Linked DNA regions of Homo sapiens: regions 1, 2, 3, 4, 5 and 6 are each linked to region 7. The links are contacts of gene promoters, found by promoter capture Hi-C in blood cells and fetal thymus (Javierre and others, 2016). All regions are on one chromosome and are shown on one strand. Each heading gives the region's core, a stretch centred on a gene start or on the middle of the fragment in contact. The rest is flanking DNA. Distances are from core to core; before and after follow the strand shown.

Region 1 (3,819 bases), core at 381-2,880, 160 kb before region 7:
CACCATTCCCCTACTCATCCCCGAAATGGTGACTTCCTTCAAGCTTGGCTCCAGGTTCTTTCCTGTTCTCGCCTGTGCTCTCCTTCTAGTCGACTGCAACTGTTTCCGTAGTTCCAGTTACCACCTTCATGACACCCCTGGTTTGAATCTTCACCCTAGGTTTCTGTGAGCTTCACATGTACACGCTCAACTGCCTAGTTGACACTGCCATTGGGTGTCTCACAGGTGTCCCAAATCAACCAAATCAAATGTGTCCAGACCTGGCCTCAGATCTTCCTTCTTCCACCCTTCCCTGTCTTGGGGCGTAAGATCTCTTCCCATCACATCTCCTGCACCATTATCTTAGAGTCAGTCTTTTTTTTTTTTCTTTTTAATTTCGAGACTGAATCTCACTCTGTCGCCCAGGCTGGAGTGCAGTGGCACATAGTCTCGGCTCACTGCCACCTCTGCCTCCCAGATTCAAGCAATTCTCATGCCTCAGCCTCCCGAGTAGCTGGGATTACAGGCATGTGCCACCACACTCGGCTAATTTTTGTATTTTTAGTAGAAACGGGGTTTCACCATGTTGGTCAGGCTGGTCTCGAACTCCTGACCTCAAGTGATTCGCCCGCCTTGGCCTCCCAAAGTGCTGGGATTATAGGCGTGAGCCACTGAGCCTGACTAGAGTCAGTCTTAAAGTGAATCTCAATATTATCTTCTTCCTTATCCCTAGAATGCAGTCTGATGTACTCCCCAAATACTTATGGATTCCAAATATGAATCCATCCATCCGTCTCCATCTCCATCATCCCATCTCAGTGCCATCATCCCTACCAGGATTTCAGCAGGGCCCTGACTCACTTCCTCTCATCCATCTGCTTCCCTGGCAGTCAGTTCTCCATACTGTATTAGTGGAATCATTTTAAAAATGTCAATCCAATTATACGACCTTCTTGTCCTTTCAGAGACTTCTCACTGCTTTTAGGAGAAATATCAACATCCTTAAAAAGGCCTGCCTAGCATGGCCCTTGCCAGCTTCCACTCACATCACTCTTCTCTCTCTTTGCTGTCTGGGCAGGGCCATTTTCCACTTCTGTGAATGTGTCATGTTTTCCATCTGCCATGGGGAGCTTGAACCAGCCCCTGCCTGGTATGTCTTTATTTCTTGTTACCCATTCCAACTTTCACAGTTAATTTGTAGCTTTCTTTCAGATAACCATTTACTTCCTTAAGAAATCCCTGTCTGGCTGGGCACAGTGGTTCACACCTGTAATCCCAGCACTTTGGGAGGCCGAGGCAGGTGGATTACCTGAGGTAAGGAGTTCGAGACCAGCCTGGCCAACATGGCGAAATCCCGTCTCTACTAAATATACAAAAATTAGCCGGGATAGTGGCGCACGCCTGTAATCCCAGCTAGTCAGGAGGCTGAAGCAGGAGAATCACTTGAACCCAGGAGGCGGAGGTTGCAGTGAGCCAAGATTGCGCCACTGCATTCCAGCCTGGGCGACAGAGCAAGACTCTGTCTCAAAAAAAAAAAAAAAAAAAAAAAAGGCCCTGACCTCCTAGATTTCGATTCCCCTCTTACAGGTTAAGCATCTTTTCTATTGCTGAATAGTATTCTGTTTTAAGGATATTTCCTATTTTATTTATCCATTCATCTGTTGATGGATATTTGGTTGGTTTGGGTTTTTTTTAAAAAGTTTTTGTCTAGTATGAATACAGCTGTTAAGAACATTCTTGTGTGGAAATGTTTTCAGTGCTGTTGGGCAAATACCTGGCAGTGTATTGGCCAGGTGGTATGGTAAAACGTTTTATTAACTTTTTAAGAAACTACCAGTTTTCCAAAGTAGCTGTGCCATGTTGCATTCCCACCAGCAGCCTACGAGCATTTCAGTTGCTCCACATCCTCACCAACACTTGACAATTGTTAGTTTTTAATTGTGGGCATTCTAATAAGTATGCCATGGTATTTTTGTGTGTGTGTGTGAGACAGAGTCTCGATCTGTCGCCCAGGCTGGAGTGCAGTGGCGCCATCTCCACTCACTGCAAACTTCACCTCCTGGGTTCAAGCCATTCTCGTGCCTCAGCCCCCTGAGTAGCTGGGATTACAGGCACGTGCCACCACACCTGGCTAATTTTTGTATTTTTAATACAGATGGGGTTTTGCCATGTTGGCCAGACTGGTCTTGAACTCCTGACCTCAGGTGATCTGCCCGCCTCAGCTGCCCAAAGTGCTGGGATTACAGGCGTGGACCACCGTACCCGGCCTTTGTTGTGGTCTTAATTTATACTTTCTTGATGATTATTGGTGTTAAGCATTTTTTCAAGTACTTATGAGCCATTTGTATATCTTCTTTCGTGGAATGTCTGTTTAAATATTTTGCTCATTTAAAAAATTTTAGGCTGGGCATGGTGGCTCACACCTGTAATCCTAGCATTTTTGGAGGCTGAAGTGGGTGGATTGCTTGAGGTCAGGAGTTTCAGACCAGCCTGGCCAACATAGTGAAACCTCATCTCTACTAAAAATACAAAATTTAGCTGGGCGTGGTGGCGGGCGCCTGTAATCCCAGCTACTAGGGAGGCTGAGGCAGGAGGATCGCTTGAACCCAGGAGGCAGAGGTTGCAGTGAGCCAAGATCATACTACTGCACTCCAGCCTGGGCAACAGAGTGAAACTCTGTCTCAAAAAAAAAAAAAAAAAAAAGAAAAATTGGATTATTTTCATATAGTTGAGTTCTGAGAGTTCTTTATTATATTCTTGGTACTAGTCATTTGTCAGATGTATATATTACCAATATTTTCTGCCATTCTGTGACTTTTCTCTTCTTTTAATTTTTTTTTTTTTTGAGACAGAGTTTCACTTTGTTGCCCAGGCTGGAGTGCAGTGGCTCCATCACAGCTCATTGCAGCCTTGACCTCCCAGGCTCAGGTGACCTTTCCGCCTCAGCCCTCCAAGTAGCTGGGACTGCAGGCACCTGCCACCATGCCTGACTAATTTTTCTATTTTTTGTACTGATGAGGTTTTGCCATTTTGTCCAAGCTGGCATCGACCTCCTGAGCTCAAGCAGTCTGCCCACCTCGGCCTCCCAAAGTGCTGGGATTACAGGCATGAGCCACTGTGCCTGGTCTTCATTTTCTTAATTGTCTCTTGAAAAGCAAAAAAGTGTTACATTTTGACAAGGTCTAATTTATCTGGTTTTTCTTCTATGGTTTGTGCTTTTATGTCCTAAGAAGCTTTTACCTCCTTATCCAATTATTCCAGATTTTCCTTTCCCTGTTGAATTGCCGCGGCACCTGTACTAAAAACCCATTGGTTGTATGTGTGTGTGGTACTATTTCTGGACGCTCTATTCTTCTGAGAGACTCTGTGTCTTGCCTTTCATCATTTGCACACGGTATTTTTAAAATTTATTTATTTTTATTATTTTTTAAAATTTTTATTTTTAGATGGAGTCTTGCTCTGTCTCCCAGGCTACAGTGTTGTGGCGTGATCTCAGCTCACTGAACCCTCCTCCTCCTGGGTTCCAGCAATTCTTCTGTCTCAGCCTCCTGAGTAGCTGGGATTACAGATGCTTGCCACCACCCCCGGCTAATTTTTGTATTTGTATTAGAGACAGGGTTTCGCCATGTTGGCCAGGCAAGTCTTCAACTCCTGACCTCAAGTGATCCACGTGCCCCGGCCTCCCGAAGTGCTGGGATTACAGGCACGAACCACTGTGCCCGGCCTGCACACAGTCTTGATTACTGTGGTTTCATAATAAGTCTTGAAATAGAGTAAGTCCTCCAACTTCCTTCTTCTTTTCTAAATTTGCTGTGGCTATTCTGGGTCATTTGCATGTTC
Region 2 (3,342 bases), core at 843-3,342, 240 kb after region 7:
CCCTGGGGCTGTCCTTCCGGCAGCTCCAGGAAAGAGATTGTCCCCAAGGAGCTGGATTCTGTCATCCACCTGCTCGGCTAGGGTGCAATGCCTTCTCCTGAGTAACTGGGAGCCTGGGTTCCCTCTGGACTGCAGCTGATTGGTTTGGGGTCTGAATTGCCAGCTGTGCCGAGACCCGAGGAGGCCAGAGATCTGAACTAATCATTTCAGCCAACACGCTCAGTGCTTCCTGCCCATCCTGGCATTTCAGGCCTCGCCCCACGCTGTTGGACATGCACTGTCACCCTCTCCATTTCACAGATGAGAGAATGGAGGCCCAGGGAGAACACGCCGTCTGCCCAGGGCCACACAGCTAGAAAGTGCTACTGCCCAGGACTGAGCCCGGCTATCCTGGTTGCGGAAGAAGAGAGGGAGTCAGCCCCAGCTAGGGGAAGGCAGAAAGAACAGGACGCCCCTCCATGCGCCCCTCCAGCTGGGTCCCATGTGTGAGAGGTAGAAAGGAAGCCAGGCTAGCTGGGGGCTGCCCAGAGACTCCCAAGGGCCAGCAACTCCATGACGCAGTCTCTCTCTCTCATCCTTATGGTGGTTTCTCTGCCGTCTCTCCCCTCTCCATCCATCCAGGCCCAGTCCAAAGTCCTCCCTCTGCTCTTTTGCCCACAGAGCCAGGAGGTGGAGGAATGTCTGGGATCGGTGGGGGTCCTGGGTCTCTGGGACTCCGAGTTTGCCAACCTCTGTCATGACAGCTCTGCTTGATGGCATGCGTCTTATATGCAGAGCCCCAGACCAGTGCCTGGTGTGTGTCATGCACTCAGCAACCTCACAGAGGGAGGACTGGTATCCATGCTTGACCCAGAGGGAGACCAAAGCCCTAAGAATAATGTCACTTGCACCAGATCACACAGCAAAAAAGATGGCAAGAGCAAATTCAAATGCAAGCCTGTGTGTTTCACTCCAAATCTGTGTCCTTAACCATGACAGCTACAGCTTCCCCGCCTCAGCCCCAGCAGAGGACAAGTCCAGAGTTAGCTGAGAAATCACTGGGGGATGAGGGGAAACTGAGGCAGCACGCCAGGAAGGTCACATAGGGTAGAAGGGAGGCTGGTGGTGGCACAGCTGCACAGAAAATGTGGTTAATAGTTAATCAGGTGGAGGAGGACTAACAGGGGTGGGGATGCATCTGGGAGGGGTGCCCAGAGAGAGGGGGCTCCGAAGAGTAGAGGGTAGAGAAAAGAGCACAGAGGGCGGGGCGCCAGGCAGAGCCAAAGCTGGGGCTCAGGGAAGGGGACTCACCCTCCTTCTGCGCCATGTCACTGCCTCTTGTTAATGATTCCCTGGCTGACCTCCTGGGCCAGGGTGGGACCTGTGAGGAGATGGACGGGGAGGCAGGGCCTGGGGGAGCCCAGCCCAGCCCAGTCCTGGCGCCCCCAGTCCCAGGCGTCCATCCAGGCAGGCTGTAGGGACTGGGCCTTGGCCAGAGCACGCCGTGATCACGGACGCAGATTGGGCTGGGTTCAAGGATGGGGTCAGTGTCTGACCAGCAGCGGGGGGACGCCTGGATTTGCAGGGATGGGGACCCCCATGCCTGAGCCTGGTGGAGCAGGGGACTGAGGATCCCGGTTTGAGGGAGGAGACAGCTGAGGACCTGAAATCATAAGTCTTGGGAAAGGAGGAATTTGGGGGCCAGGACTCCCTAGTATGAGGGAGGAGGGGCCTGAGGGCTGGAACTCCTGGGTCTGGGGAGGAAAGGACTGGGGTCCAACGGCTGAGTCTGAAGGAAGAGCAGGACAGAACACCTAGGTGCTTGGGGGGACGTCATAGTGCCCCCTCTTCAGGTCCCCAGGAACCCCTCTATTAGGAGGTGGGCATTAGGCTGGGTGGGGGGATGAGGGAACCCCTGTCCTCAGGGCTGGAACTGTGAGTCTGGGGGCCCTTGTCCTTACCCTGGGGTCCAGCAGGTGGGGGCGGAGCCTCGAGGTAGTGCCGGGGTCGGGTCAGTCTCCAGGCCTGGGCAGGAGCATGGTGGCCCCGCAGCAGCGGGCGGCCTGGAGGCAGAGGCGGTGGCGTGGGGCCTGCTAGGCCAGGCTGCCTCACCTGAGGAGGAGGGGGCTGGGCGAGGGGCGGGTGAAGGGGCGGGGAGGGGCCGGACCATTCGATTGGCAGCACTGGAGGCCACCTGGCTGATGGGGCCGGGCTTGTGGGGGCTGGACCAGGCGGGCCCAGCTACGGGGCTTGCCTTGGACCTCCAGGGGGACCCAGGTGTGCCTGTCTGCGGGGATGTGGGAACAGGGACAGGCCTGGCCGGAGGCTGGGGGTTTAGGGAGAAAGTGCAGGCTGAAGGGTGGGGGTCTGACCAGAAGAGATCAGATGGAGGGCCCCAGCTGCCCTAAGCCCACTCCACCCTCACCCAGCGAACCCTTCCCCCCGCCCTTTCTGCGTCCTCCAGCCCCAGGTCCTGGCTGTGCCCGCCACTTGCTGCACCTCTGCCTAATTCCCTGCCCAATTCCTGGGCCCCAACCCCAGCCCCAGCCTCTCCCGCCTGCCCTGCTCATCCTGCCCCGGCCCCTCCCCCGCTGGCTTCCTACAAGTCACGGGGCTGGTTTGCTTTGGCAGCCTCCGCCCGGCCGCGGTGACCTCTGGAGCCAGAAAGTCCTAGCACTAGATAGGGGGGATGGGGGGCTTGGCCGGGAAAACACAGCGCTAAGGGCAGAGGCCCAGGCCAAGTGGCCGGAAGCGTCCGCAGGCAGATAACACACTGTCCCGCCAGCAGCCAGGCGCGGCCCACGTCAGACCCAGGGCCAGGTAAACACCAGACGTGCAGGGTCACCGCCAGACACCTGCCCGTGCTCAACCACACGCCGGACACAGTCGGCCTCGGCTGCTTGCCCCAGATAGGCCACCCGCACAACCGGCCCCACCCGCTTACCCACACGTGCCCGCTGTGCCCAGCCAAACCCACCTCCACCGCACCCATTTCCTCCACTCAGCCCAGGGCCCCTCATTGGGACACGCTGGTTTAGCCTGGCTTCCTCTGCCTTTCCATCCATACCCGTCTCTCCTTCCCTCTCCTTCTCCCCAGCGCCCACCTCTCCAGAGACTCACACTGCTGGGCACACCACACACCCCATGCCACCCCTGCACCCCAGCATCAGCCTCGATTCTCTTCCCTCCACGGCACCCCCTCCCTTCCTGGCTCCGTTCCACTCTCCCTCACCCCTGAGCCCATGGCTCCCCCAACCCCGACACAGATCAGGCACTAAGTGGCTTCACCTGTGGGCCCTCAGGTAGGGTCCCTGGAAAGCGGGCTCGAAGATTCGGGGACGGGAATGGGGGGAAGGTGACGGG
Region 3 (3,770 bases), core at 471-2,970, 210 kb before region 7:
TCTATGCGATGGGCCTGGCCTCCCTCTCTAACGTCCCTCTGGGCCTACTGGCACAGGCCATCAGGGAACATGGGCGGCTGTTACCAAGGTCTTCAGAAAGCCAGAGCTTCATCTGCTTTTAGGACTAATTTCAAATGTCCCTCCCTGGGCCACCTTTTAAAATTTGTATTTTAATAGAGACGGGGTCTTGCCATGTTGCCCAGGCTGGTCTGGAACTCCTGGGCTTGAGTGATCCTCCTGCCTCAGCCCCCTAAAGTGCTGGGACTACAGGTGCGAGCCACCGCACTCGGCCCTCAGGCCATCGACCAAGGAAACCCTGTCAGCATCATATGGCCCCGTTTTCTTCGCAGCACCTGTCCTTCTCTGAAGTCATCTTGTTTGCGTATCTATTTTTGGTTACATTATGATGTCTCCTTCGCTAGGACATGGGATCTGTAGGGCAGGTCTTTTGTCCATCTACAGCCCCCAGTACCAAGAGCCAAATAAATATTTACAAATTAGCCAATGGAGAGAGGGATTGGAATTAAGTGGGACCAATCCAGGAAGACTTCCTGGGAGAGGTTTAAGCACCGGGCACATAGGGTGGGCGGCAAAGGAAGAAACCACACCTGCTGGTGGATGAGGCTGCTTTCTTGGTTGTGACAACACCGACGGAGGGAGGAAGGGATGGGACAGGGATGCCCTGAGTTCTGCCCCCTAATACTCCACATCCCAGTCCCCTCTCTCTCCCAGGATTCCCGGCTTCCCACCTAGTGTTCGCCAAGGCCCCGAAAACCTAGTGTCTCTCTCTTGGAATCCCCACTCCCTCCCTAGACCCAGGAGGCTGGCTGCCAGGCCCTAGGTGTGTCTCACAATGGGGCAATCCAGGCTGGGCCTCGCCTCCTACCCACACTCAAGTTCTGGCAGATTTGGGGTGGGGTGGGGGCAGGCCTGTGGGAAAACAGAGGTTTACTGGTATTCTCAGTGAGGGAGCTAGGAAGTCAAGCCGACCTGGAGATGTGATGTTGCAGAGCCAGTCTCTGCGGCTGCCTGACTCCATTAACCCTCCGTGATTCATCCAAAGCTGAGCTGCGTATCGGGCAGATTTTCCTGCAGCCCATCACCTGAACTGCTGGGACCCTCTCCCAGGGAGAACTCCCTGCCCCTCTCTTTCCCCATCTGCCCAACCCAACTCAGGGAACACAAACTACTCAGGCAGCGTAGATGGAGGAAGAGGGAGGAGTTTGGAGAGAGACACTGGCTTCTAAAGTTGGCCGCTTACAGCAAAAATCACGTCAAGATGGAACTAGCTGGGCGCCGTGGCTCACTCCTGTGATCCCAGCACTTTGGGAGGCCGAGGCAGATCACTTGAGGTCAGGAATTTGAGACGATCCTGGCCAACATGGTGAAACCCCGTCTCTGCTAAAAATACAAAAATTAGCTGGGTGTGGCGGCGCACGCCTGTCATCCCAGCTACTCGGGAGACTGAGACAGGAGAATCACTCCTCCTGGGAGGTGGAGGTTGCAGTGAGCCGAGATCATACCACTGCACTCTAGCCTGGGCAACAGAGCAAGACTCTGTCTCAAAAACAAAAAACAACAAACAAACAAAACCCCAAAAAACTACCCTCAGAAGGTGCCAGGAAGATGCCAAGTGGAAACAAATCATGAGTCCAACACAGACAGCTTTTTTTCCAGCATAGGAAGAGAATTTCTTTGGTTGAGCACACAAAGCAGTTGGCCTGTGTTTAGAGGTATGATACAAAAAGTACCTATTTTTAAACAGCAGAATGTTGAACACTAGATCCAGAAACGGAACCCTATCTGTAAACACATACTTGGTGTGGCAAGATGATTATACTACTGGAGGCATCTGGAAACGGAGGCAATCACAGGTTCATTCGGGGGCTGATGCCACTAACCTTCATTCTTCGTTTTCATTTTGTCAAGAGTGTGCAGTTTGATTCATTTAAATGAATGCACCTATGCTTGGGGCTGCCACCTCTGATGGTGCAGGCTATGCACCACAATGGACACTGTAAAGGGGACCTGTGGGGGTTCGATGCAGTCTGCCCCCCACTCTCAGGACATGGGTCTAATTCACACAGGGTGTTACATGTGCTGTAACATAGCCTGTCCAGCATAGAGAGGAGCAATATAGGTTCAGGCTCTGGAAGCCCAGCGTTCTAATGCTGGTCCTGTCACATTCTGGCTGTGTGACCTGGGGTGAGTTATTTAACCTCTATATGCTGTGGTTCCCCCGCCTATAGAATGTGAATAATTATAGTACCCACCTGTGTCAGAATCACTGGGACATTTCAATGAGATCGCGTATTTGGAGCACTTAGTACAAGGTCTGCCATATAGTAAGCCTCAGTAACTCAGCTAACATTGTTATCAATACCATCGGGTGGAGAGGAAAACATAGGGAGGGCAATTTATTGTCAAAGGAAAATCACAGATTAGACTCTAGAGCAAAACAGAAGACAGCGTTGGATTGACCGATGCTCTAGATCACCCAGGCCAAAACTGGCACTGGGTCCCCTCACCCGCCTGTCAAATCGTAGCTGGTTATACAACATCAGTTCTCTTTTGTCTGATTCTTCACTCCCTGGAGTCGACCCTATGCGGATGGAATGGTGGCTAATGAGCTTTTTCAGTCACTGTTCGTTAATTAGCAAGGATTCATTACACAGAACTTGTGTCCTCCAGAAAACCTTTTGGGAGGTGCTCCACCCACCTCAGTCATTCTCTAACTCGTCCCCTCCAGGAGCACCAACTCTGTGACATCCACTACTGTGTGGCCATCTGGGCTAAGGGAGTGTTCTCTAAGCAGTGTTCCCTCAGGTAGCTCTGCAAAGGGGAAGCTGCCATTATAAAATCAGAGGAGGCTGAAGAGGATGTCTGGGACTGGGGTGTGGGGGCAGCGTGAGGATGGAGCTGAGGTGCCCAGCTTCTGGGGTTCGTAAAGGTTGTTCATGGATGCCGTCCAGCCCTCCCACCCAGGGCCACCGCCACCGTGCATTGCATCAGGTTGTGTTGATAAGGTCTTGCTTTTCCCTGACAGCGCCGGTCCATGTCCCAGCCCCTCCCTGTTACAGCAGGAGCCGGTTTGGCCACCTGAACCTCACTGTGGAGAAGGCTGCTTGACTAGGACATTGTGTCACAGTGAGGTGATCCAACTTCCAAACTGGGGGTGGGGCAAGGTGGGTTAGGGCAATGACATGGAGTGGGCACTCCAGGTTCAGGGTACCTGGATCCCATCTCCAACTGGGCACCCTAAGAGCTGTTTTTTGTTCCCTGTTCCTTGTCATCTTAGCTCAAGACAGTCATTTCTCTGAAGACCCAAGAGTAAAAGACGGGCAGTTGGAAAATGGAAAGGTTCAGCCCCATGAAAGGAAAATGTACACTGTGGCTGAAGGATGCCTGAATACTAAGTCTAACGTATCATATCTGACCAATGCTGACTCTACCTGGGTTCTGTGTGAGCCATGGTTCTAGGGGGATGTAAAGCTGATCAAGATACAGCTCCTGACCTCAAGGAACTTGATACTCTAAAAGGGAAACAAGGCGAGAACATGACTTACTTAGATACAATGCCAGAGACATACAAACGAATGAATATGGGAATTCTGTGAAAGGAAAGGTGTGGAGAGAAGGACTGGGCATTGCAGGAAAAATCTGGGAAGCTTCATCCAAGATGAGTGTTGGGTTCTGAGAACTGGAGATGAGAGAAGGCCATGTTAGGAATAAGGAACAGCATGGCCGGATGCTTTGAAGAGGGAAAAAGA
Region 4 (3,600 bases), core at 206-2,705, 210 kb after region 7:
TTTAGGCTTTCTAGCTAAGGACCTGGTCATCAGGGAGCAGAGACAAGCTGTGCCTGCTGTTCCCTGTCCAACTTTCTGAGCTGCAGAATCCATGAGCATTTACTGTACCCACTAGCTTTGGGTGGTATGTCATGCAGCAAGAGCCAAAACAGCTCCTCGCTTCATAACTGCAGGATTGAAACAGTGTTACTTTTTATGCAGAAACTAAAGTCCATCTCCCTACTTATGCTGCTATCTGAATGTTCACAATAATTATTTCTGAATATAAAATGAATAGCCTTCACCATCATTGCTAATCATGGCTGTGATTTTATGTATGAAATAACTGTTGTGGCAGAGTAGCTGTACATTTCTCCTTCAACCCAGCTGGGAGAATGCCAACTTATAACCACATATGGAGCTATCTGTTCCAACTAACATCCAGAAAGCTTTTCTATATTTGAAAAGGACTATGTAGATATAAATGCTAAATAGGAATGCAAAACTTGGCTTGGGTTCCTGATGTAGTTGCACTAATTCTGTAAGATGGGTCAAATATTTCTGATTCTGAGCGGCACCACAATGACATGGAAGTAATTTTCATATTCAGCTTTTCTGAAGACTGAGACCCTGGCAGGAACTGAAAGCAACCTTGTGACTGTTATTATTCTTTTTAAATATCTTCCTAGCTCTTTGGGGTGAGTGGCAAGGTTGCTGGGAGCAGGAGGAGAAACTGAGGCTCACTGACCCCTGGCATACAAGGGAAACCAGTGAATGGCTGTTGAGTGAATCACAATCTCCCCAGCCCCTCCACTCCTCCAACAAAGCAACAGTGCAGACAGAACTCAGAATGGCTGTCAGAGGCGTTTGAACCAGAGCAACTCCATCTTAAATAGGACCTGGGTAAAGTAAGGCGGAGACCTGCTGGCCCGCATTCCCGGTAAATTAAGGCATTCTAAGTCAGAGGATGAGAGAGGAGGTCGGCACAAGATACAGGTCATAAAGACCTTTCTGATAAAACAGACTGCAGTAAAGAAGTCGGGAAAACCCACCAAAACCAAGATGGCCATGAAAGTGACCTCTGATTGTCCTCACTGCTACACCCCCACCAGCGCTATGACAATTTACAAATGCCGTGGCAATGTTGGGAAGTTATCCTATATGGTCTAAAAAGGGGAGGCGTCAATAATCCACCCCTTGTTTAGCATAACTAAATAATAAATCAAGACTAAATCAAGAAATAACCATAACAATGGGCAACCAGCAACCCTCGGGGCTGCTCTGTCTATGGAGTAGCCATTCTTTTATTCCTTTACTTTCTTAATCAACTTGCTTTCACTTTACTCTGTGGACTTGCCATGAATTCTTTCTTGCACGAGATCCAAGAACCCCTGGGGTCTGGATCAGGACCCCTTTCCAATAACATGGCCACCTGGTTTTTATTTTCCCAGCAGGATGCCTGTTGGCTTTTAATGACCAAATTTCCATCAGATCCCCTAGAATAAGGCCACATCCCCCCCAGACTTCCCAGGGCAGGGCCATGCCTTCTTCAGTGCCCCTCACACCCGCCCTTCTCCTCACCAGAGCAAACTGTGTCCCTCCAGGACATGGTCACCTCAGTTTAGAACCCCCAGGGTGGACCATGTTCTCTCAGAGTCCCCAGACTTCCTAAAACACAGGTACAGTACATTTCTCAGCTGGCAATTACAAAGGAAAACTCAGTCACTCCGTGTTGTAACTCAATACGTTTCTAACAAAGCAAGCCGTAGGTCAGGTCTCAAATTACATCCCACATGCCATGGGTAGAACACCACAGCCAGAGGTAGACGTTTGGGGAAACTGCACTGAGGCTCTGCTAACACGATGTGGGCCTGGGGGCTCCTGACCAACAAAGCAGTGGTGGGGCTCAACCTCGCCAGGGGTGTGGGGATCGGGGAGTGACGCTGGGATCGTTTTCCAAATGCACAGTTTGTCAGTTTCTCAAAGGAGCTCTTGTAGATCATCTATATTTTAGGAAGCTGGGCTGGGTGCAGTGGCTTAGGCTTGTAATCCCAGCACTTTGGGAGGCCAAGGTGGGCGGATCACCTGAGGTCAGGAGTTCGAGACCAGCCTGCCAACATGGTGAAACCCGTCTCTACTAAAAATACAAAAATTAGCCAGGTGTGGCAGCAGACATCTGTAATCCCAGTGTCAGGCCTCTGAGCCCAAGCCTGCATGTATACATCCAGATGGCCTGAAGTAACTGAAGAATCACAAAAGAAGTGAAAATGGCCGGTTCCTGCCTTAACTGATGACATTACCTTGTGAAATTCCTTCTCCTGGCTCAGAAGCTCCCCCACTGAGCACCTTGTGACCCCCACCCCTGCCCGCCAGAGAACAAACCCCTTTGACTGTAATTTTCCACTACCTATCCAAATCCCATAAAACGGCCCCACCCCTATCTCCCTTCACTGACTCTCTTTTCGGACTCAGCCTGCCTGCACCCAGGTGATTAGAAAGCTTTATTGCTCACACAAAGCCTGTTTGGTGGTCTCTTCACATGGATGCGCGTGACACCCAGCACTTTGGGAGGCCGAGGCAGGTGGATCACCTGAGGTCAGGAGTTCGAGAGCAGCCTGGCCAACATGGTGACAGCCCGTCTCTACTAAAAATACAAAAATCAGCTGGGCGTGGTGGGGCACGCCTGTAATCCCAGCTACTCGGGAGGCCGAGGCAGGAGAATCGCTTGAACCCAGGAGGCGGAGGTTGCAGTGAGCTAAGATCACGCCACTGCACTCCAACCTGGGAGACAAGAGTGAAACTCTGTCTCAAAAAAAAAAAAAAAAAAAAAAAGGAAATTGCTTGGAAGCTGTGGTCCATGGGTGATGTATGATAATTGTTATTATTTAAAGTCATGGTGAACAGGCTCCCCCGCTGAGCCTTTCTTCAGCAGAACAGCAGGTTTTCAGCAACATGCGGCTGACTCCAGGCAGGAAACCCCTTAATGTGTCACAATGTTGGGGCAGCAGTGCCCCCTGGTGGCCATCGGGGCTGCATGAGGCTCTGCAGAGGCTCTACAGAAGGGGGTTCCTCCCCAGAAGCTGCCCAGATGGAGAAAGGGGTTGGGGGAGGGTCTCAGGCTGTGTTCCCAGCGTCTCCCTATCTCCACCTTACAGGGCCCCGTTTTCCGTGTTGGTTCAAGGTAGATGTCTTTTTTGCTCACTGAGCATCTATTTCCACTTCTGGAAATAGCACCCTATTTCCTTTGGGACTCCCACACTCAGGTCACACGATTCTTGAAGGCCTAGCGCCTCCCACTCCACCCCGCTCCACCCCTACCGCGTACATCCGGTGCACAGTGATTTGCCAAGGGATGAGCACGTGACCCAAATCTGTACAATGGGAGCTGGGCCTGGGTTTTTGTTGTTGTTGCCTGGGACTTTTTCTGCAGTGATTGGGAAAGAGTTTGTGTGGAAGGGGACATCTCTCTCTCTGGTTGTAGGAGAGGCTGCTTGGAAATGAAGCTAACACAGCCTAAGGCAGATTTGAGAGAGCAGCTGGATCCAGCTGTACCTGAAGCCAATTTGCTCCAGGAAAATTCCAGTTAAGTGAACCAATTAAAATCTTAAATCTCAAATCAGT
Region 5 (3,392 bases), core at 636-3,135, 230 kb before region 7:
GGCTAGGTGCGGTGGCTCACGCCTGTAATCCCAGCACTTTGGGAGGCCGAGGCAGGCAGATCACGAGGTCAGGAGTTCACGACCAGCCTGGCCAACATGGTGAAACCCTGTCTCTACTAAAAACACAAAAATTAGCCCAGCGTGGGATTACAGGCCCAGCATGCGCCTGTAATCCCAGCTACTTGGGAGGCTGAGGCAGGATAATCACTTGAACCTGGGAGGCGGAGGTTGCAGTGAGCCAAGATCGTGCCATTGCACTTCAGCCTGGGCAACAGAGTAAGACTCTGTCTCAAAAAGAAAAAAAAAATTAGCTGGGTGTGCTGGTGTGCATCTATAGTCCCAGCTACTTGGGAGACTGAGACAGGAGGATCGCTTGAGCCCAGGAGGTCGATGCTGCAGTGAGCTACAATTGTGCCAGTGTACTCCAGCCTGGGCAAGACCCTGTCTCTAGAAAAAAAGAACCATCTCCCAGAGTTGTATAATTCTTAAACTGCTTGTGCTTAGTCCAATGCTGGGTACATACAGAACCGCTGATAAGCTGGAGCTGTAATTATTATTATTATTATTATTATTATTACCACCATCGCTATTATCATCATTAACGAGTCAGAGATGGAATAACAGGGAAGTAGGAGCTGAGGAGGACAGATGGGGATAGTGTTTACAAGGTAAGAAGTGTTGGATGTTATAAGCTGGGGTGCGGATATTGGGGTGGAGAGAAGAGAGAGACTGACTGAGAGACATTGAGAAAGGCTGATGGAAACTGGCCCCTCCTAACTGGGCGATGAACCCCAGTGATACGAAACAGTGGGAGGCCCTGTGGCCCCTGGGAATAGAGAAGCAGCCACACTTGCTGGGCAGGGGTGAGGCGGGGGGAGGCTCCCAGGTTCTGTATCCCGAGCTGGGACTGGGGAGAGGGCCGTGGCTCTCACGGATGGCTCCTGACCTTGCGCTACCCTCTTCTCGCTTGCCATTGCTGCCCTGGCCCCTGGCCTGGGGGATGGGTGGGGTGAGCTGGCCCAGTCCCGCCCCTCATAGGCGCTTATACTCACACGTGCCCCTCTAGGGCTGCGTAAACAGGATGGGTGCCTGGGTCAGCGGCTCCCTCCCTTGGCCTTCCCTCCCACTCGTTCCCTGGGGGTGGCTGGCGCGCCTGGCTGCCCTGCTCCGCGCCCAGCTTTCTCAGCCGGGAGCAGCCTGAACGCTGAGACACCCTGCTGACCACTCAAAGGGCTATGGCCACCTCCTTCCCCGACACCGAGGGTCCCCCCGGGGGCTCTCCCCAGAATCTCAGAAACTGACACGCAGCCCCGTGTTTGCCAGTCTCTCTCTGTGGGCTGGAAGGTGTGGAGGAACAAGAAGGCAGTCACCTGTAGGTGGCAATGCGGGAGGGGAGAGGGAGAGGAGAGGCTGAGGTGCTGAAACCGAGAAAGGCCAGGCCGAGGACGGGCAATGCCTGTCACTCTGGAGCCCCTGAGCCAGGCTGGCTGAGCCTGGGTGGGTCCTGTCCCCTGGGGCTTCCCTGTCCTTACTCCTTTGGTGGGGTCCTGCCAGTAACTCCTCTCTTCTAAGTCTGCCCCCACCCCACCGCCTCCAGGAGCCAACGACAACCTGTCTCCTTAGATGCCCCTGCCCCCACCCAGCTCCCCGAATGCCTGGGGTTGGGAAATGGGAGCACTTTTGCATCACCTCATCCATTTCTCCCTCCCTCCCTGATGCGGCTCACTCTCTGTTTCGACAGAGACTCTCAGACTCACAATAACAGCTGATTACCCTATTGGTGGCTGGGCCCTGAGTCACTGCGGGGAGGGACCTCAGGTTGCCCAGCCCTGTCACCTTCTCCCAACCTAGAGTATAAGGAGTAGTGACAGGGAGGTGGACTCTGAGAAGCCCAGGCAGTTGAGGACAGGAGAGAGAAGGCTGCAGACCCAGAGGGAGGGAGGACAGGGAGTCGGAAGGAGGAGGACAGAGGAGGGCACAGAGACGCAGAGCAAGGGCGGCAAGGAGGAGACCCTGGTGGGAGGAAGACACTCTGGAGAGAGAGGGGGCTGGGCAGAGATGAAGTTCCAGGGGCCCCTGGCCTGCCTCCTGCTGGCCCTCTGCCTGGGCAGTGGGGAGGCTGGCCCCCTGCAGAGCGGAGAGGAAAGCACTGGGACAAATATTGGGGAGGCCCTTGGACATGGCCTGGGAGACGCCCTGAGCGAAGGGGTGGGAAAGGCCATTGGCAAAGAGGCCGGAGGGGCAGCTGGCTCTAAAGTCAGTGAGGCCCTTGGCCAAGGGACCAGAGAAGCAGTTGGCACTGGAGTCAGGCAGGTTCCAGGCTTTGGCGTAGCAGATGCTTTGGGCAACAGGGTCGGGGAAGCAGCCCATGCTCTGGGAAACACTGGGCACGAGATTGGCAGACAGGCAGAAGATGTCATTCGACACGGAGCAGATGCTGTCCGCGGCTCCTGGCAGGGGGTGCCTGGCCACAATGGTGCTTGGGTGAGTGGCTGTGGGGCTGCATGTGGAAATGGGAGGCTGTGGGCTGCTGGGCTGAGATTCTTGGGAAACGGTTGAAAGGATGGATGGATCTCTTACTTGCAGGCTTCTGGGGCAGCTTCCTTCTATGTTCTGCCCCCCTCCTATGCCACCCTGGAGTCCCTCTGCCTGTCTCTCTCCTGGTCTCTTTATGATTTGCCCTGGCTCTTCTCTACCAGGGTCAGAGATGGTCCCACTAAGTGCAGGTATGTTGTTCTTGCAGGAAACTTCTGGAGGCCATGGCATCTTTGGCTCTCAAGGTGGCCTTGGAGGCCAGGGCCAGGGCAATCCTGGAGGTCTGGGGACTCCGTGGGTCCACGGATACCCCGGAAACTCAGCAGGCAGCTTTGGAATGAATCCTCAGGGAGCTCCCTGGGGTCAAGGAGGCAATGGAGGGCCACCAAACTTTGGGACCAACACTCAGGTAAAGTCACCCCCAGACCTGCTACCTGCCACCTCCCTCCCTCCAAGCCCACATGCTCCGCGTGCCTCCCTGGTCCCTCTGGATCCTACTCTCAGTCTCACCCTCTCTGCAGGGAGCTGTGGCCCAGCCTGGCTATGGTTCAGTGAGAGCCAGCAACCAGAATGAAGGGGTAAGAGGAAGGGGCTGGGAACAAATGAAGAAGCCACTGGGTGCAGGCTACAGAGAGCTGGGGAAAGACAAAGAGGAAAGCAAGATGGGGGAGTGGAGGGATTGGGGTGAGAGGAAGAGATGGGGCTGGGCGAGGTGGCTCACACCTGTAATCCCAGCACTTTGGGAGGCCAAGGCACGTGGATCACCTGAGGTCAGGAGTTCAAGACCAGCCTGGTCAACATGGTGAAACCCTGTCTTCACTAAAAATACAAAAATCAGCCGGTCATAGTGGCATGCG
Region 6 (3,887 bases), core at 515-3,014, 180 kb after region 7:
CGCCTCGGCCTCCCAAAGTGCTGGAATTACAGGCGTGAGCCTCCATGCCCGGACTAATGAACACCATTGTTGAGAGTTACTATATATCCCAGGCCCCGCCACAGATGAATCAGACATGCCACCTCCTTAATTTGGCCACAGCTTTTTGGGAGCACACAGTAGGCCCACAGACAGAAAGGGAAGGGCTCAGAACCTGACAGCCTGGGTTCCAATCCTAGCACAGCCACTTTCTCCTTATGCGACATTAGGCAAGCAAGTCTGCCTTCCCGGGCCTCAGTTTCCCCATCTGTACCACTGGGATAATAGCAGTCCATCTGCTGTGCTGCCCTTTGGAGTCAATGGGCTCGTTGTGTGGGACGCTGACAGCATGACTAATTCTGAAAGCTGGTTCCCTTCCTGGAAGGGGGTGGAGTGGGAGGGGTGTGGCTGTGTGTTTTCCAATAGCCAACAATGGAACTCTTGTAGGCAGGGGCCCTCGGGCCTAGAAAACACATCCACCCCTGTGGGTTCTAGACAAAAGTTTCAGGTCTCAGAGTGGAGGTTTACCAGGGCATTTACACTCTTTGAAGATTGTTAAGAAGAAATACTGGTTTCGGGGGACATAGGGACACAGGGGTGGATTCCCATTTTGCCCTCTCTCCCTGCAAGAAGTAGCTGCCAGAGATGGGGGGTAGGGGCAGGATCTCTCCCACCTACAACTCCTGAGTAGGATTAGATAGGCTTAAGAAAACCTCTGGGCTGCACTGATTGGCTCAGTGGGGTTTAATCAAAGTGAAGCATTGGAATTTTTGTTGAGTACTTGGGGTAAGAAAAGATTCGGGTTTTGGACAATGGGGAATACACATTTAATGACTGGAAAATTGGCAGTTATTTTGCCATCACAAGAAAAGCCAGCCTGAGGACAAAGCTAATGCTATAGAGAAACACAGACCAAGAGAAATGCTGAAAAACTGAGTTAGCACCCTGATCAAACCATGCCTGATCTCCCTCTGGAATTTTCAGTTATGTAATTAGTCTAAAAATCATAAAACACAGTCTGTGACTGGTTTGAGTTACCTTTTATGAGGCTTTCTGTAACCAAAACAGCCAAAGTGGTATATAGGGAACTTCTGTGGACCCAGAATCTCTACACTTTCACTAGGCTATCACATGATTTTTACTTAGTTTGAGCCAATGTATTTCTTTTAGCTTCAATCGGTTCAAGAGTCTCTAGATGCCAATGAGTGCTTACCTCATCAGGTCGGGGCTCTCTCTGCAGACAAACCTGGGTCCCATGAACCTACATCTTTGAAATGAACACAATGGGACTGCTGGACTTGTTTCTCCTTCCCAATTTCCACCTTGAAAAGGCGCAATGAGCTGGAGGAGCCACAGGACTTGGTAAAAGCAGAAGCGCAAGTGCCTGGAAACTCAACACTCTTCCGGTCAAAGGAGGCGACGTGTGAGTGCATGGTTGCTTGATAAATGCCAGGGGAGAGTGGGTGGCACCCAAAGATGCCCCTGAGGGTCTCACATCTCTGCCCCGGCCCACAGGAGGACGGGGAGCAGCACACGGCGTGGGTGGAGGCCTGGCAGTGGCAGAATTGCTCACAGCGCTCCCCAGTCCAGAAGGCCTCCCCAGCCGGGTGGTGGTACCTGCCCCCCATGGAGCAGCTGCACTGGATTGGGGGCACGCAGTCCATGCCACTGAGCACAAAGCCTGGGTCACACTGGCAGCCATCCTGGCATGGTGTCAGGCAGCTGTCGGGCAGGGCAGGCTCGGCACAAGAGCTAGGACAGGAGGAGCCGCAGAGCTCGTAATTGCTGCGGGGAGGACAGGCCAGCTCTGGAAGAAAACAGGTAGGAGTTAAATAATTGAGCAAGCATTACTATTCTGGAGCATTTCCAACCAGAATAGGACCAAGGGAGCGGAGAGAGGGTTGTGGGGGCCAAGGGTAAGTCATAAAGGCAAAGGAGGGGAGGTGGAGGCATCATCAGGATGTAGCATAATGGTGGCGGCGTGGTCACGGCGGTGATAACGGTGGCGGCGTGGTCACGGCGGTGATAACGGTGGCGGCGTGGTCACGGCGGTGATAACGGTGGCGGCGTGGTCACGGCGGTGATTAACGGTGGCGGCGTGGTCACGGTGGTGATAATGCTGGTGGCGTGATCATGGTGGTGATAATGGTGGTGGTGGTGGTCGTGGTGATAGTAATGATGATGATGGTGGTAGGGCTGGTGATGTTGTTGGTGATGTGATGGTGTTGATGGTGATGGTAATGATAGCGGTGATGGTGACAGTGATGATAGTGGTGAGGGTGGTGGTGGTGGTGATGACAATAGTTGTGGTTGTGGTAACAATGATGGTGGTGGTAGTGATAATGGTGATGGTGATTATAGTAGTGATGGTGATGCTGATGCTGGTGGTGATGGTGATGCTGGTGGTGATGGTTATGATGGTGATGATGATGTTGATGGTGGTGGTGGTGGTGATGATGATGGTGATGGTGGTGATGGTGATGATGGTGGTGATGGTAGTGGTGATGATGGCTGTGGCTGTGGTAACAATGATGATGGTGATGGTGGTGATGGTTGTGGTTGTGGTAACAATGATGGTGGTGGTAGTGATGATGGTAATGCTTGTGGTGATGGTGGTGGTGGTGATGATGGTAATGCTGGTGGTGGTGGTGGTGGTGAGGCTGGTGGTGGTGGTGATGGTGACGCTGGTGGTGGTGGTGATGGTGACGGTAATGATGATAGTGACTGTGATGATGACAAAGGTGACGAAGATAGTGATGAAGAAACAACCTTGGTCATGCTGGGTCATGTTCAGGTTAGTTCGTTACTTCAGCATAACCCAGACCATCCTGACTGATGCAATAGCACTCAGTGTCATCTGTTATTGTTATTGCAGAGTTTTAAGCAGGTAGGTTCTTCGCGGGAACAGTTAGCCAGAAAGGCATGCAGTGGGTCACTTTGGGTGGTGTTGACCTAGGAGGACATCCTGGAAGTGGTATTGGGCCAGCTGGGGAGGTCAGGCTGAGAAAGACCCTCCCTGGGAATACCCACTTACTGCAGGCCAAGAGGTGTCTCCAGGGCTGCATGGGAACGCTGCGCTGCTGGCTTTCCTGGGCGTAGCTCCCCAGTATGGCACACAGAGTCTCTCTTGAGCCCCCCGTGGCACAGAGGTCATGGATGCAGTTCTCCACATGCACCTGGGGATCCACGTCCTTACTGCAGGCCCTGTAGGGCCCATCTTGGGTGCCCAGCAAGCCACAGAAGGCCTGGTATAGGGCTGCCTTGTCTGGTGGGCACAGAGGGGCTGGGCCCCCATTAAGCTGTTGGCATCAGAGAGCCATGTGCTATCAGAGCCGCTGAAGTCATCCTGGGTATCCACGCTGAAGTCCCCGCCCAGGCCACAGAGGGTGTTGGTGTAGGTCTCAGGCACTGCCACTCAGAGGGCATGGGATTCGTGAAAGGTCATGGAGAGGCCGGGTGCCACCTGGACTGTGATGGCCAAGGGCGTGAAGAAGGCCTGGAGTGTGCCCCCCAGCCAGAGTCAGGGGCAGGCCAGCCTGGGAGCCGTTCACCTGGAACACAGACACCCAGGCTACGTCGGGCAACCACGTCCAGACACCTGCCCCTCCTGGGCCCCTGCTCCTGCCACTGCTGAGATCCACTCTGCACATAGCACCCAAGGAGCCCTTTGAAATCGCACATTAGATCCTATCCCTCCTTTGCTCAAAACCTTTCCATACCTCCCTAGTACACTTGGAGAAAATCCAAACTCGCCACCGTGGCCTGGGCAGTCCCACAAAATAAACCTCTGTCCCCTCTGTCCTCATCTTGTCTCACACACCCCTTCACTCATCTGCCCACTCTGCGCCAGCTCCCCGGGTCTCCCCACC
Region 7 (3,521 bases), core at 339-2,838:
CCATTTTAAAAACCTACAGGAGGCTGGGCGCAGTGGCTCACGCCTGTAATCCCAGCACTTTGGGAAGCCGAGGTGGGAGAATCACCTGAGGTCAGGAGTTCAAGACCAGTCTGGCCAACATGGTGAAACCCTGTCTCTACTAAAAAAACAAAAATTAGCCGGGCGTGGTGGCAGCCGCCTGTAATCCCAGCTGCTCGGGAAGCTGAGGCAGGAGAATTGCTTGAACCCGGGAGGCGGAGGTTGCAGTGAGCCCAGATGATGCCACTGCACACCAGCCTGAACGACAGAGCGAGACCCTATCTCAGAAAAAAAAAAAAAAGCTTATGGGGGCTTCCTCTTTATTCCAAGGAAAAATCAGTGTCTGCATGGTTGCCCACAAGACTTAGGGACTGCCCACCCCTCAGCCTTATCCCCAAGTCCCACCATCTCCTCTTGTTCAGCCTGACCCTGGGCTATGCTGGCTTGTCCTCTCCTTAGGTCTTTGCTGCCTCCATCTCTCACCCTCCAAGACGAAGGTCAACTGTCACTTTCTCATGAAACACTTGCTTGACTGCCAGCCCCTTGACCATGCCTGTGGTCCCCCAACCCGTGGCATGTGCCTGCTGTCCCAGCTACTTGGGACGCTGAGGTGGGAGGATTGCTTGAGCACAGGAGGTTGAGGCTGCAGTGAACTATGACTGCACCACTGCACTCCAGCCTCAGCAACAGAGGAAGACCCTGTCTCTAAAAAACAAACCAAAAAAGTGACTCTACTGTGTGGCGAATGGGTCACGGTCACTCTACCACTGTCTGTTATGAGATTCACGAATAGAATGTACTAGACACAATTATTTATTCATGTTTTCATCAGTCTTTAACAAATTCCCTGACCAGGATGGAGAAATCTCCTCTCTCATCTACCTTGTTCATGGCCTCGTCCCCACTGTCTAGAATAAGACTCCACACGGCGTAGGGGTTCCGTAAATACCCATGGAATTAGGACCTTCCAGTCCCTGTCACTCGGTGCTTCATTGATTTCTGTTCTTTTTTGGAGATGGAGTCTTGCTCTGTTGCCAGGCTGGAGTGCAGTGGTGCAATCTCAGCTCACTGTGCAACCTCCACCTTGCGGGTTCAAGCAATTCTCCTGCCTCAGTCTCCCGAGTAGCTGGGATTACAGGCACCTGCCACCAAGCCTGGCTAACTTTTGTATTTTTAGTAGAGACGGGGTTTTACCATGTTGGCCAGGCTGGTCTCAAACTGACCTCAAGTGGGCTGCCTGCCTCAACCTCCCAAAGTGCTGGGATTACAGGCATGAGCCACCGTGCCTGTCCTGGTTCCTGTTCAGCTGCCAGTACTCCTGAGACGTCCTGAGCTCTGCTCAGTGCTCGGGTGTCTCCAGTGCCCTAGGCTGAGGCCTGGCTCTCCCATCCCTGCTGCCCTGCTAAGGACCCAGGCCACTGGGCTCTCACCTGTTGTGGGAAAACAGAGCCACTGGTCAGGCTGGCGAGGAGGAGGAGGAGCAGGAGGCAAGCGGCCCAGATCTGGGAGCTCAGTGCCATCGTGCCGTCTGTCTGGCTGTCCCACTGCTGGGTCTTGAGCTTGCTCTGGTGTCTGGGACCGAGTGACAGTCGCTTTTATGGGGCCTGCCAGGGGAGGCGGTGGTCTGAGCCCCCTCCCCTTTGCTCTGTCTCATTTCCAAGAAGGTGGTGGCGCCGAAAAGGCGGGAGAGATAAGCGGGAACAGAGCGACAGGGAACAGGGTTGTGTCACCCTCAGCCGGCAGAGGTGTGTTCAGGGGGTGGGGCAGACGGGGTCACAGACACACACTGCTCACCAGCCATCTGGGGAGCCCTTTCCCCATCACGATGTCATTCTGCTGATCGGGAAAAAAGTTCCCCCTTTTGCTTCAGCGGTTAAGCAGTTTGATGAGCAGAATCAAGGTTCCGCTCTCCTCCACTCACTTCCCCATCGCCTACATGCACACGGGGCATGGCCAGCAGCCGCCAGGCTCCTCAGGAGTGTCTGGCATGTTGGGGGAAGCATCCATTGCTTTAAGCTCTCACCACACGTGCATAGGTTCTGGCAGGGAACACTAGATAGCCCTGAGCAGGGCAAGCATCAGCGTGTGCCCGATCCGCACGTGGTGTTTTCCCAGTGTCAGACCCTTGAGATGTGGCTCTGGTAACTGGAAAATGTTTGAGCAAACTTTTGGCCATAAATGACAGCAGTAATATGGCCCAGCACAGTGGCTTATGCCTGTAATCCCAGCAATTTGGGAGGCCAAGGCAGGAGGGTCGCTTGAGCCCAGAAGTTCAAGACTAGCCTGGGCAACATAGGGAGACCCCATCTCTACAAAAAAAATTTTAAACAAATTTAGCCAGGCGTGGTGGCACACATCTGTAGTCCCAGCTACTTGGGAGGCTGAGGCAGATCGCTTAAGCCCAGGAGGCTGAGGTTGCAGTGAGCTATGATTGTGTGACTGCACTCCAGCCTGGGTGACAGAGTGAGACCCTGTCTATAAAACATAAAATAGCAGTAATAGTAATAGCTAACATCTACAGTCCGATGAGTACATTTTATACGATGGCACATATGTTGACTCACTTCTGCACCAACTCAGCCTGTGCTGCCTGTTCTCCCAGCAGCACTTACTGCCCCACCTTCAGCTCTGCTCTGTATTCAGGGGCTGCCTTCTCAGTCACCCAACCCCAGAGGCCTGGGCTCCCCAGACCCTGCTCCCTTTTAGGAACCTCCTCCCCGTCGGACACTCATTTCCTTCACTTTACAGAAAAGGCACTGAAGGCAGAGATCAGGGCATGGCCCAAGCTTGCTCAGCCAGAGGCAGAGCTGAGATTCTAGCCTGGACAGCCTGACTCCAGGGCTTTTGCTCTTACCCACCAGGTTTCCCCATCTCCCCTAAAACACAGCAGGGCACAGCGGTATGCTAGACCTGGCTCAACATAGCAGACCATGCACATCTCGAAACTCTGCATTCAGTGGCATCATGCTGGTATCCTGAAATCAGCAGCAGTGGGAGTCTTGACACCCAGAAATTGGCAAGCACTACAAGCCAGGGATGTTTTTGGGGAGCCGGTTCCTTAGGACACCACTAGCTGGGGGATGAACCCAGGCTGCCTGACTGCAGTGCCTTCATTCCTTTCCACTACCAGGCCCAGCTCAGGGTGCACACGGCCCAGGGGATCAACAAACCTTGGTTCCAGATGGGCCCTTGCACATTTTGCCTCTTTGCCTTTTTCATTCCAGGGCCATCCAGTGTCAGCCAAGTCACCAGAGCCCGGGGATGTTGTTGTCGAGGAATGAACACTTCTTCCTGGTTGCTGAACCACTTTCAAGGCCCACTCAAGCACAGAAATGCACAGGCCCTGCCATCTGCCTCCTCATCCACACCACGTGGGAGGCTCCTCTTGTCACAGCCTGGGTAACAAAGCGAGACCCCATCTATACAAAAACTTGGCTGTGGTGCTACGCACCTGTAGTTGGTCAAGGCTGCAGTGAGCCGTGATTGTGTGCCACTGCACCCCA

Evidence for each region. Contacts are between HindIII fragments. The CHiCAGO score rates a contact against its expected background, and 5 or more counts as called.
Region 1: a contact is called between a fragment that was not itself captured here and the fragment with the promoter of HAMP in region 7, in 9 of 17 cell types (total B cells, monocytes, naive B cells and 6 more). The highest score is 14.2, in total B cells.
Region 2: a contact is called between the fragment with the promoter of HPN here and the fragment with the promoter of HAMP in region 7, in 6 of 17 cell types (naive CD8 T cells, naive B cells, total B cells and 3 more). The highest score is 9.6, in naive CD8 T cells.
Region 3: a contact is called between a fragment that was not itself captured here and the fragment with the promoter of HAMP in region 7, in 15 of 17 cell types (total B cells, naive B cells, M1 macrophages and 12 more). The highest score is 22.3, in total B cells.
Region 4: a contact is called between a fragment that was not itself captured here and the fragment with the promoter of HAMP in region 7, in 1 of 17 cell types (naive B cells). The highest score is 5.1, in naive B cells.
Region 5: a contact is called between the fragment with the promoter of DMKN here and the fragment with the promoter of HAMP in region 7, in 14 of 17 cell types (monocytes, naive B cells, total B cells and 11 more). The highest score is 13.0, in monocytes.
Region 6: a contact is called between the fragment with the promoter of HPN-AS1 here and the fragment with the promoter of HAMP in region 7, in 6 of 17 cell types (total B cells, naive CD4 T cells, total CD8 T cells and 3 more). The highest score is 7.3, in total B cells.

The regions. Positions count from the first base shown.
Region 1 is chr19:35,442,139-35,445,957 of GRCh38, reverse strand. No RefSeq gene overlaps it. Among named protein-coding and RNA genes, the nearest start is that of FFAR2, 4.2 kb to the left of the region's middle. RefSeq lists an enhancer at 3,467-3,676. The HindIII fragment of the contact is 3,169 bases long and covers 46-3,214 here.
Region 2 is chr19:35,040,471-35,043,812 of GRCh38, reverse strand. It overlaps HPN (hepsin), which reads right to left and starts at 2,092. Exons shown (of 13, transcript NM_001384133.1): 1 at 1,941-2,092; 2 at 1,291-1,360. The coding sequence starts at 1,306. RefSeq lists an enhancer at 2,621-3,342. The HindIII fragment of the contact is 15,827 bases long and covers 1-3,342 here.
Region 3 is chr19:35,491,322-35,495,091 of GRCh38, reverse strand. LOC124904703 (a long non-coding RNA gene) reads left to right here. Exons shown (of 2, transcript XR_007067242.1): 2 at 1-500. Among named protein-coding and RNA genes, the nearest start is that of KRTDAP, 2.7 kb to the right of the region's middle. RefSeq lists an enhancer at 1-246. The HindIII fragment of the contact is 3,900 bases long and covers 1-3,670 here.
Region 4 is chr19:35,066,687-35,070,286 of GRCh38, reverse strand. All of the region lies in intron 3 of HPN-AS1 (HPN antisense RNA 1), which reads left to right. Among named protein-coding and RNA genes, the nearest start is that of HPN, 27 kb to the right of the region's middle. RefSeq lists enhancers at 1,041-1,726, 1,727-2,412. The HindIII fragment of the contact is 2,050 bases long and covers 431-2,480 here.
Region 5 is chr19:35,512,142-35,515,533 of GRCh38, reverse strand. It overlaps DMKN (dermokine), which reads left to right and starts at 1,885. Exons shown (of 16, transcript NM_033317.5): 1 at 1,885-2,484; 2 at 2,744-2,944; 3 at 3,057-3,113. The coding sequence starts at 2,059. The HindIII fragment of the contact is 13,607 bases long and covers 1-3,392 here.
Region 6 is chr19:35,104,181-35,108,067 of GRCh38, reverse strand. HPN-AS1 (HPN antisense RNA 1) reads left to right here and starts at 1,764. Exons shown (of 4, transcript NR_024562.1): 1 at 1,764-1,839. It overlaps LOC124904701 (hepatitis A virus cellular receptor 1-like), which reads right to left. Exons shown (of 3, transcript XR_007067238.1): 2 at 1,232-3,569. The HindIII fragment of the contact is 15,680 bases long and covers 1-3,887 here.
Region 7 is chr19:35,280,595-35,284,115 of GRCh38, reverse strand. HAMP (hepcidin antimicrobial peptide) reads right to left here and starts at 1,588. Exons shown (of 3, transcript NM_021175.4): 1 at 1,449-1,588. The coding sequence starts at 1,538. RefSeq lists enhancers at 1,217-1,726, 3,113-3,162, 3,253-3,332, 3,423-3,521. The HindIII fragment of the contact is 2,484 bases long and covers 323-2,806 here.